4 separate regions of the Homo sapiens genome follow, and all the other regions are linked to region 2. Evidence: promoter capture Hi-C in human tissues and cell types (Jung and others, 2019). All regions are on one chromosome and are shown on one strand. Each heading gives the region's core, a stretch centred on a gene start or on the middle of the fragment in contact. The rest is flanking DNA. Distances are from core to core; before and after follow the strand shown. Region 1 has its middle 40 kb from the start of IREB2. Region 2 holds the start of ADAMTS7 (ADAM metallopeptidase with thrombospondin type 1 motif 7). Region 3 holds the start of HYKK (hydroxylysine kinase). Region 4 overlaps PSMA4 (proteasome 20S subunit alpha 4).

The links. Contacts are between HindIII fragments. The study calls those that stand out against the background at their distance.
Region 1: a fragment that was not itself captured here is called in contact with the fragment with the promoter of ADAMTS7 in region 2 in 2 of the 25 tissues and cell types used here (H1 embryonic stem cells and liver).
Region 3: a contact is called between the fragment with the promoter of HYKK here and the fragment with the promoter of ADAMTS7 in region 2, in 2 of the 25 tissues and cell types used here (liver and mesendoderm cells).
Region 4: a fragment that was not itself captured here is called in contact with the fragment with the promoter of ADAMTS7 in region 2 in 1 of the 25 tissues and cell types used here (aorta).

The regions. Positions count from the first base shown.
Region 1 is chr15:78,396,393-78,399,092 of GRCh38, reverse strand. No RefSeq gene overlaps it. Among named protein-coding and RNA genes, the nearest start is that of IREB2, 40 kb to the left of the region's middle. The HindIII fragment of the contact is 7,261 bases long and covers 1-2,700 here.
Region 2 is chr15:78,810,014-78,812,713 of GRCh38, reverse strand. It overlaps ADAMTS7 (ADAM metallopeptidase with thrombospondin type 1 motif 7), which reads left to right and starts at 1,250. Exons shown (of 24, transcript NM_014272.5): 1 at 1,250-1,593. The coding sequence starts at 1,494. RefSeq lists a silencer at 803-1,222. The HindIII fragment of the contact is 14,119 bases long and covers 1-2,700 here.
Region 3 is chr15:78,506,326-78,509,025 of GRCh38, reverse strand. HYKK (hydroxylysine kinase) reads right to left here and starts at 1,449. Exons shown (of 5, transcript NM_001013619.4): 1 at 1,355-1,449. The HindIII fragment of the contact is 18,918 bases long and covers 1-2,700 here.
Region 4 is chr15:78,542,897-78,545,596 of GRCh38, reverse strand. It overlaps PSMA4 (proteasome 20S subunit alpha 4), which reads right to left. Exons shown (of 9, transcript NM_002789.6): 5 at 1,330-1,407; 6 at 640-728. Among named protein-coding and RNA genes, the nearest start is that of PSMA4, 3.8 kb to the right of the region's middle. The HindIII fragment of the contact is 5,249 bases long and covers 1-2,700 here.

The sequences.
Region 1 (2,700 bases), core at 178-2,677, 410 kb after region 2:
CAGGGTGGTATGGCCATAGACTTCAATGCCTTCTTTCTATCTAGCTGACTTCGGAAAGCTACTGACCAACTTCTACTCTCAATTTTCATCTGTAGAATGAGAAATGTTTTTAGTAATTAAGAAATACCCAAATATTAGTAAATACTGAAAATAGTAGTACCTTCCTAGTAGAACTGTTGAGAGGATTAAATGAAAAAAGTACATACAAGGTACTTAGCTCAGAGCCCGGCGCTTGGTAAACCCTCGCTAAATATTAATTAGCAGCTATTATTAGGGGGAAAGGAAAAGCTAGTCTGGTAGAATCACAAGCACCAGGAAGCCATCAGGGAGGTGGGGAAAAAGGGCGGTTCTTTCTGGAGTCAGGAAGGTAAAGCCATTCTTATCCGGCCTTGGAGCCTTGGAGGCAAGGTCCCCTCCTGTCAGTCGTCAATGTTGCCCACTGGTTTCCCTGGAAAGAATGAGAATCCTGGGTCATTCTGGGCAGCGGTGACAGGTCCAGCCTCCTATCTCTGCAGCTTTGTCTTCTCAGGAGCGTCACTTGCTTACAGCCACCCTCGGCTGCTTCTTCTTAAATCATCTCCACATCACAATCACAGAGGGTTGGGAGCCCGCCTGCATCTCAGGGGCTCCAGCTGTCTCCCATGGAATACGAATAGCACTGTCGGGCTGTTGGTCTTGTTGCCTTTGCAATCTGCTTTCTGCACAATGTCTAGGTTGAGCACATTTGCAGGCTCAGTGAAGCCATTATTTTTCTTGGTGACATTTTCTGGCAGCAGTCTAAATTCGTGAAGAGCTGAGGACAGCCTTTGCCTATGCCTGGAACTGGGTGGCCTACTTCCCCATTGCCATCTGTGTCTATTTGTCCCTGGACTTAGACACAGACTCATTCACACCCAGACCAAAGAATCCCAGGTCAGTGGAGCTCAGGTGTAGCTCTTGTCAAATTAAAAGGTACGTGGGATGCCCCAGGGATCCTGTTAAACTGCAGACTCAGTAGGTCTGGGGCCAGGCCTGAGAGTCTGCATTTGTAACAAACTCTCAGCGCCATTTCATCTGATGGTGCTGGTCCATGGACCAACCACACTGAGTAGCCTAGTGGTTCTCAAGCTTCATCCTGCATCAGAATGACCCTCAGGTCTTATTAAAACACAGATTGCTGGGCCTTTCCCAGTCTGATTTTGAAGGCCTAGGGTAGATTCCAATATTTTGCATTTCTAAGAAGTTCTCAGGTGATACTAATGCCGCTACTCTAGGGACTACACTTTGAGAACAATTGTTTTAGTTTCCCGACCTTTCCATTACCTTTATTATTATTCCTTGAGTTCTGTGACTTTCTTCGAGTTCTCTAGTCCTGACCACTTGCCACAGTTCAGTCCTGCTGAGTACCTCCAGTCTGTCATATCTATAACTGACAATGCCCCAACTTGGCCAATGACACCTTTGTGTTCCTTTTGGCCTCTGTCTTGAACCTGTTGCCCTGGCTTGCTTCACACTCTGCAAACTTGCCAGCCTCATTTTCTCACCCACAGCTTCTCCGGGTCCTTTCAGCCTGAGCCCTAACATGGTATCTCCAGCCTTGGTCTTTGTATCACTGCTCTGCCAACCCCAGACTTCCTGCCCTGGCTGGCCTGGGTGAGGGGTTCACTCCTGCCCTAGGCACCCCCCTCTTTTTCTGGCTCCTCTAGGGGCACCAGGCAGCTGTCAGGGCCCTGGCATGCAAGGCTGTGCCCAAGGGAAGCGGACATCATGGAGCTAATTAAACCAACGTGGACCCAAGTGCCTGGAATTCAGGAGGCTGTCCTCTCCCACCCACCCCAACAGAGCCCCGCAGACGCTGGAGTGAGTTAGTTTGACCTTCTGGATTGATGCAGTTAATGAGATGGTTGTGTAATGCTTTGTTTAACAGAACTGGTTTCTGGGCCCGGCCCAAAGCTAGGCTGGACTCTGGCTGGCTTCCATGCCCCAGCCCTGCTTGCTCCCTTGAGGCTCCCTCTGGCCAGTGCCCTCTAGGGGCCGGGGCTGATATGTTTATTGCTAACTACTCCGAACTCGTCTGCCTCCTCTGAGGAACCCGGGGACAATTCCTCTGACCTTTCCCTGCAAGCTCCATCTCTGTGAAACTTGGTCTCACAAGCTAGCCTTTCTTGCTTGGAGAATCTGTGTTTGAAGTCAGAGCAGAAAAAAACAGGCTTTTCAGGGCCCTGCTTGTGGCAAGTAAGTGACAGCTCGAGGGCCTGGTAGCCATACCTCTGTGACTAATAATCTTTGGCCTCAAAGATGCAATTTCCTTTCTCTTCCTTGCTATAGCTCCCAAAGTTCTTTCTCACCTATATGACAGCTCTTGCTTCAACTATTCTAGGTCGTCCTCCCGGAGTCTAGCACACGGGAAGGCCAAAGGCTTGGTATCAGACTGGCCTGGGTTTGAATCACAACTCCATCACTTTCTAGCTGTGTGACCCTGGGCAAGTGATTTAACCTCTCTGAGCCACAGTTGCCTCATCTGTAAAATAAGGAACACAGTCCCCATCACCTCACTCCTAGGGACAGTCCAGGGAGAAAGTGAGAGGATGTGGTGAAGCACCCAGCACAGTGTCCAGTACGCAGGGGTCTTACTGGTTACCCCCATCCAACCCCAGCACCCTCCAAGGGGCTGGGCTTCACACGGCTCAGCTCTTCAGACAATAAATGAGTGATTTGGGC
Region 2 (2,700 bases), core at 1-2,500:
GAAGTAGGTGAAGCCAGGAGGGGCTGGTAGGTTGGGCGAAGAGGAAGGTATCAAGGGACTGGAGGAAGAGCAATACATAGTGGGACTGTGAAGGTGGAAAGGACTGCAGAGTCGGGTCTGACAGGGGGGCACCTGAGCTTCGGATTTCCAAGATGGAGCAGTTCTGAGGGATGACACAGCCCAGGCTTTGGCCCTGAGACCTGATGGCTGAGGTGGAGTGGAAGGTCACTGGAGATGAGATGGAGGAAGTAGGTGACCCTGTACTACACAAATTCCCTAGAGGACAGACAGGTTGAGGGTGGAGAGGAAGCCAGAAGTGAGCTTCCAGGAATTGAATGAAAGGGCCCAGGAGATTGGACAATGAGGAGGTGTGCGGGCCTCAGAGGGCAGGGGGCACACAAAGACTAACCAAGGGGAGGAAGCTGACCGCAACCGCCCCGAGGACAAGACGGGCGTCCTCGGTACAGGGCCATGTTTAGTGACGGCAGAAGGGAGAAAGGAAGCTCCTGGGAGCACAGGGGGAAGGGGAGCCGGAAGCCAGAGCCAGGGCTGGGGCCACGAAGGACAGACGGCCGGTGTTGGAGGCGGAGGCTGGCCTGGGATGTGAGGCTGGGGTTGGCCGGCCTCCAGGCTCCCCGGGAGCCCCTGCTGAAAGTCTGTGGGCGCTGGCCTGGGCGAAGCCGCGGTCCCCCGCCTGTGGGCTCAACTCTGCGCTCTGCTTCAAGCAAACGCACTAGGAGAGGAGTCAGGAGACGAGGAACTGCGGGGCCCCACCTCGCGCGGGCAACCGCTGTCTGTCCAGGGAGGGCCCAGGCCTGTCTCCGCAGATAGCTTTGAAGCAGGGCCCCCGGTGTGGCCCTCTGGAGGCCTCCCGCGTCCCCTTTTGAGGGGCTGCCCTGCTTGGCCTGGGGAACACAGCGAAGGGCACCTCGTGGAGCCCAATTTAGGGACAACACATTAATTCTGGAAATTCCAGATTCTTTCCGGGGGTCCTCAACCGGCCGGGGTCGGAAAGGCCTGGCAGGGCTCCGCCGGCAGGGGGCGCTCGGGACAGGGGGGCGAGGGGGGCGGACATCCGTTGCGGGGCGCTGCCTGCGCCGGGCCGGCCAGCCCTTGAGGCGAGCACGGCCTGCGGGGCCGATGAGGCCGGGGCCGGCCGGGGCGGGGCGGGGCCAGGGGCGGGGGAAGGAGTCCGAGGGGCGGGGCGGGGGCCGGCAGCCGCCCTCCCTCACTCTCCCTCCCTTTCTTTCTTTCTTTCTTTCTCTCCTTCTAGCTCTCTTGTCTTTTCTTTGCCTCTGCAGCGGCCAAGGGGGCGGGCCCTGCAGCCTTTGTTGCCCGCGGACCGAGCGCAGCCGAACGGAGTCGGGGCCGGGTCGCCGGGAGCTGCACGCCGGCCGGGCATGTCCTGAGCCGGACCTGGGACCAGGCAGCGACCGGACGGGACGGACGAGAGCGTGCGCGCGGGGTCACCCGGCGGCCGCCCGGTTCCTGCCATGCCCGGCGGCCCCAGTCCCCGCAGCCCCGCGCCTTTGCTGCGCCCCCTCCTCCTGCTCCTCTGCGCTCTGGCTCCCGGCGCCCCCGGACCCGCACCAGGTGGGTGTCCGCCCCTCCCCGGCCAGCCGGGCCTGCCACCCCTTCCCGCTCCCCCAGTCTCGGTTTTGTCCCTCCTCACCTTTGTGGACCCCGCGCCGGCTCCGCTGTGCCTGGAGTTGGTCGCGTCTTCCGCTCCCTGGGTATTAGGGGACAGTAGTCGGGGTCGGGCCGGGCCGGGAGCGAAGCCGCGCTTCTGGGGAAACTTCCTCGGCCCCTGATTCAGTTACTGACACTGCCTGTCGCCTGGAATAAGCCCCTTCCGCTCTTCGGGCTCCGGTTTCCCCACCTCGGGTGCAGCAACGCGCCTGGCTCCCGGGAGAGCTCTCGTCCGAGTGGGCTGGACGGAGCGCGGTTTACCCACTGAGGATTTGGTTTCTCACACTCCTTAGCGAGGCTCGCCTGGAAAGCGGGCTGGCCGGGACACAGCCGGCGAGGGCGCCAGGTCGCAGGTCTTCGCGGGACCCCGCCGCCCCCCCAGCTCCCGCCCACCGCATCTGGGCTGCTGGCGCGGCCCCTGGCGGCTCGGGGGGCCGGGTCTTGCGCGGTCCTTGCACTTCCTGCCTCTCCCTTCCCCAAGTGTGAAGACGCCGGGAGTGGAGCGGGGAGCAGGAGCTTCTTTTCCCGGCCATGGGTTAACTCTCCCCGCCCCGCCGGGCCGGCCTCCGACGAGCCTCTGGCCTGCGTCCAGACTCTTGTTTGGCGGCGACCTGCCGGGCGGCCGCGCTGCTGGCGCGTCCGACGCAGCCGGCCTGGGAATTCAGTAACCGAGGATGTAGGAGACCCCAGGCCCGGTGCTCAGGGAGCTCCCAGTCAGGGGAGCCGGTGGATAGTGGGGAGAGTCCTGCAATAGAGCCGACCGGCAGGCTTTGTAGGAGAGGAGGGGCATGAGGTTGGAGAGACTGGAAGGATGGATGGATTCTGGATGAGCTAGAAGGGCGTGGAGGGAGTGGGGCCCTCCCCTGGGGAGCATCAGTCGGGGGACTGGATTAGGGTTGCTTGCTGGGATGGGGTCGACCTGCCTCCCCACTGGAGGGATTGTGACGAGAAAGTAGTCTGGGCGGGAAGGATGGGGACATTGACTCTTGATCTTAGAGGTTTGGGAAGCCG
Region 3 (2,700 bases), core at 200-2,699, 300 kb after region 2:
CCCAGTCTGGAGTACAGTGGCACAATCACTGCTTACTGCAGCTTCCAACTCCTGGGCTCAAGGGATCCTCCCACCTGAGCTTCCCAAATAGCTGGGACTGCAGGCAGGTGCCACCATGCCTGGCCTTTTTTTTTTTTTTTTTTTTGGAGAGAGAGGGTCCCACTATGTTGCCCAGGCTGGTCTCGAACTTCTGGGCTCAAGCAATCCTCCTACCTTGGTCTCCCAAAGTGCTGGGATTACAGGTGCAAGCCATCATGGCTGTCTTTTTGATTTTATTATTTTTATTTTTTTAGAGACAGTGTCTCGCTATGTTGCCCACTCACACATTTTTAAAAATTATTAACTTTTTTTCCTACTTCATTGAAAGGGAGAGGAGGAATTCAGGTACTATAGGCTGTTGGTCTATATATCCGGCCAACAGTATTTAGCTCCTGAAAAAGCCCGCAGGAAGCAAGTGTGATTTCCAACTCCAAGATCTGCGTCAGAATCTCACCACCTTTGTCCTGCAGCCGGGAGGGGGCTGGAACTTAAGCTCTGTACTTTGTGCAAAGTATACCAGACAAGAAACAGGAGTCATTCTTGATTCTTTCCTGTCCCTCACTCCCAACGTGTAACAAAGTCTAGTAAATTCTACCTTAGCATGTCTTCCAACTCTACCTTTCTTCTCCTACATTCCCTTTTGCTGCGTCCTTCCAAGGGATTATACCCAGTCAATCTCTGTATTCTCAGCCCCTAGGCTAGTCCCTTATTTAATATTAAATGGTGAACCAAGGGTGACCTTCATTCCACAGACTCACGGGGCAGTTCAACCCCAAGGGGATCATGAAACAGAAAGGTGGGGAATCTAGCATCTGCAGTTTTTCAAAGACAACAGTGCATTACTAGGTGCTTTTAAGGGTCTTCCTGGTGGGTGAAGGGGAAAAAGTGGTGGGTGAGCGGGCTGCAGAGGGGCTGCTGAACCAAGAGGCAGGAAAAGAGAGGAGGAGGGCGCATGAGTAAGTGAGGTTCAGCGGAGCTCAGAGACTGCTCCCAGTAGACACCGGCCAGGCGCCGGCACAGCCCTCGGCCAGCGACCCCACACAGACCCGGGAGGGCTGGCCTCGACAGCTTCTCGGGTGCCACGCTTTCATTCTGGGGGCCCAGCTCAGCCCTCCTAGGTTACAGGTGAGGTCCGGGAAGAAGGGTGACTTGCCCATCACGCACGCAGCGAGCTGAGGATAGCGCGGGCTGGAGGAGCCTGAGGCATAGGACTCCCGGCTCCACACTTGCAGCGAGCCTCCCTGCCCTCGGGGGCGACCCCGACTCCCGCAGCGGGGACGCAGGGCTCGTCTCTGCTTCCCCCTCCTTGGCTCACCGGCAGCGACCCGACGTCCTGGGGTGGATCCCGCTTTCCCGCAGACAGGTAGTGCGGCCTCGGCCGCGCACCGGCGCTAGGAGGTAGAGCAGGGGCCGCAGCGCCCGCGCCCCTCCTCCAAGCCCCGCGAGTCCTGACTTCTGATTGGCTCCTCCCGGTCCCTCGCCGCCCAGTCAGCGCAGACTACTGGATTTTTTTCCCGGCCCCGCCTAGGAGGCTGCGAACAGAAATTCAGAGATTCGGCTTCTGTTGACTTTCTGCAACTCCGCCCAGCCTTCTCACAGTGAGTATCCCAGTCAGAATCCGGCTACCTTTTCATGAACCGGACTCCTTATTCCTGATTGGCTCTCCGGGTTGCCGCCCCACCCCGAGTGGGCAGGCTTTCGGCTCTTGAGTGGCACCTCCGAGTTTCGCAGGGTCCACGTTGTCGTGGCGGTAACACTGACAGCTCCTCACCCGCATCCACGTTTTTGTTTCCTAGCCTTCATTCCTTCTGTTGGAGGCACGTATCCTGGAAGTGATACGCTTAGAAAGCGTGGCCCCAGAGAGACTCGCAATCCCAGCCCCAGGAACTGTAAGGGTCCTGATTGGAAGGCCTGAGTAAGGCCTGGCTGCGTTCCGCAGGAGGATGCTGGAATGTTAGAACCCGAACAGTTTAGGCAGGGCGCAGATGGCTCACGCCTGTAATCCCAGAAATTTGGGAGACCGAGGCGGGAGGATCACCTGAGGTCAGGAGTTCGAGACCAGCCTGGCCAACATGGTGAAACCCCTCTCTACTAAAAATACAAAAATTAGACTCAGGGGGTATGTCTGCAGCTGCAGAAAGATGTATGGGAACAGACACACAACTCTCCCTCCGAGATAAGCACAACAAAGAGACACAGAAGCAGTCCAAGCCTCTGATAAACTCTCCCACTCCGAATCCTTAAAAACTTACTTAGTCTGTAAGAGAGTGTGCCTCTGACCTAACTTGGCCAGACGCCCCTCTCAGGTTTTCTCTAAAATAAACCTCTTATGACCACCAAGCCACTTTTCGTGTTTCTTTCCTCTTTCTTTAATTCTTACACCGAGTAGTTGGGATTACAGGGGCCCACCACCACGCCTTTATCTAGGTAGTGGAATCAGTGGGCTCTCTTTCTGCAGGAAAGTCCGCAGAGACCCCATGATTTTCAGAAAGCTGCACGAGATTCATGGAGTAACAGCCAGGTTAGTTGGATGGTCTTAACTGTTAAGGGCATGAGGCGCTGATAAACAGCTTGATGCCCTTCTCCAGCCAAGCAGGACTTCTCCGATAAGTCAGAGCCCTCTATCTACTGTAGGCTACTGGAAGAGAGTCCTGGGTACTG
Region 4 (2,700 bases), core at 139-2,638, 270 kb after region 2:
TAAATTTAGTATCACTACAGTTACTTGAGCTCAGTGAAGGTAGCTAAACCCTACTCTGTGAACTTAAGCATTCATAAACTGTTTTGTATTCTGGCTACCATAGATAAGCTCCATTACAAATTCGACTTTTGTTTCTACGATTTGGACACAGCCAGAAGAGGGAACAGACAAAGGACCAGTGCTGAATTTCATTATTATGTAAACAGCAGTTAGTTTCCAGATTTGAAAATGTTGTTTTGGACTTTCAATATCCTATTAATAAAACGAGGGTAATCTACATGGTGGAGGAACACGTTCATTCATGAAGCAAGAATGTATGAAATTCTAGTGTTCTATACTACTGTAGGATTAATATAGTTAACCATAACATATTAGTTTCAAATAGCTAGAAGGATATGGAAGGCTCCCAACACAAGTGTTTGAGATGATGAATGTGCCATTTACCCTGATCTGATCATTATGTGCACTGAAACATCATTATGTACCTCATGAATATGTACAATTCTTATTTGCCAATTAAAAAAATTAAATTTAATTTAAAACAAAGGGTCTATTTTCAATTTTTTACTACCTCAAAAGGGTTATAACTCATAAAATGTCTTAACTTTTTCGAATAAAATTTTCAAAAAAATTAAATACCTCCAAATTGTGTATAAGCTTGTTTGATATCACACAGCGCTGTAACCAACTGCTCACAAGGTATTGGCTCCTGATACTGTAATAAATACCTAGGATAAAGAGATGGGCACATTAGTAGTTTTCTCTAAAACACAGACAGACTCTAAGGAAAATATTCTCTGAAAAGCAATCTATGCCATGGGGACAACCTAACAGTCATTTGTAATTTGAAGGGGAGGGAACAAGTCAACATCTGAATATTCTCATAGTAAATAATATTTTGTAAGTTTGGTTGAAAAAAATCTGTAATTTTCAATTCAAAGATTTTTAATGACTTTAATCTTTGCAAAAGTGAGCTCTCCTTAGAAACATCAAAACTAGGCCAGGTGCAGTGGCTAATGCCTGTAATCCCAGCACTTTGGGAGGCCAAGGCAGGCGGATCACGAGGTCAGGAAATCGAGACCATCCTGGCTAACACAGTGAAACCCCGTCTCTACTAAAAATACAAAAATTAACCCGGTGTGGTGGTCAGCTACTTGGGAGGCTGAGGCAGGAGAATCGCTTGAACCCGGGAGGCGGAGGTTGCAGTGAGCCAAGATCGTGCCACTGCACTCCAGCCTGGGTGACAGAGTGAGACTCTGTCTCAAAAAAAAAAAAAAGAAACATCAAAACTAATTTCTGTATCATCAGTTATGCTATTTATGACCATACCTTTGAGCAATGAGCCTTAGTTCATTAGTCAGAACATTAGCATCAGAAGTTATGCCTGCCACACTGCAAGCCATGTCCCTTGAAGAAAAAAAGACATTGATCTGTAAGCAGGGAAGATGCTTGCAAGGAGTGTTTATAAGTATTTAAAAAATTCTAATTTCTATTAGAAATTCACTATGTTTGCTTCACAACAGCTACTTCCTTCAGAAAAAACCTACAAGTTTTATCTTTGTAGGAGATGTTTACTCGATGTCACTCAACATGAAAGATAAACAAATGCACCCTTTAAGTTATTTAATAGATGTATTTATCATTACCACCTATGAATAGGATAACAAAATTAACGCCAAGAAGCTAATGTAATCTCAAGAAGATTCAGCAACAAAGAATAAAAAGACAGGCTTGCCACAATGGCTCACGCCTGTAATCCCAGCACTTTGGGAGGCCGAGGTAGATGGAGGGCTTGAGCCCAGGAGATCAAGAACAGCCTGGGCAATACGGCAAAATCCCATCTCAACAAAATATACAAAAACTAACTGGGTGTGGTGGTGCGCACCTATAGTCCCAGCTACTTGGGCGGCTGAGGTGGGAGGATCACTTGAGCCCAGGAGGCAGAAGCTGCAGTGAGCCAAGATGGCGTCACCGTACTCCAGCCTGGGTGACAGAGCAAGAATCTGTCTCAAAAAAAAAAAAAAAAAAAAGATTTTGCTAGACAGACTGCTCTTGAGTAATATTCATTTCCTAAGGCCTGGCTTGACAGAGGTGACAGGGGACAATGGCAGGAGGGTTTACAAGCCTGCTTAGGAAGTACAGGGCTAGGCTCCTACTAGAGGTGCATTTCATTTTTTTGGGCCCACTTCCTGAGGGCTGCCCTGGCTCTCTTATAGCTGAGACTCGCCCTGTGACTACGCCTAGCCAAGCCTGCCAGCTGTTGAGTGGTCCCAACAGAGGCTCTGTGGAGGGGTGACACCACTTTGGACAAGTTTATCAAAAGGCCCTGATAATCAGCATTTACCAAGCCCACCACCACTGAAAGGAAAGTCTCTACTTAGCACGGTCAGCTCTCCATGAGCTGCAAAGTTCTGCACACTCAAATATAACAAACATTTCACACAGTGTACAAGGCTTGGCTAAATTCTTCGAGACCTCTAAGAGGCTTGTTCTTTAGTAAGATTCAGTGTAATTCAACAAAATCCTGCGTAGCTATTCTAAACAATACTTTGAGGGCCTACTAAATGCCAGATACTATACTATTTTATTTCATTCATTTTATTTCATTAAACTGCCACAACCACTTTAGGAGGCTCTGAGGCCCAAAGAAATTAAATAATCGGTGCAAGGTCACATAGCCTGCATGGGTGAAGCCTGGAG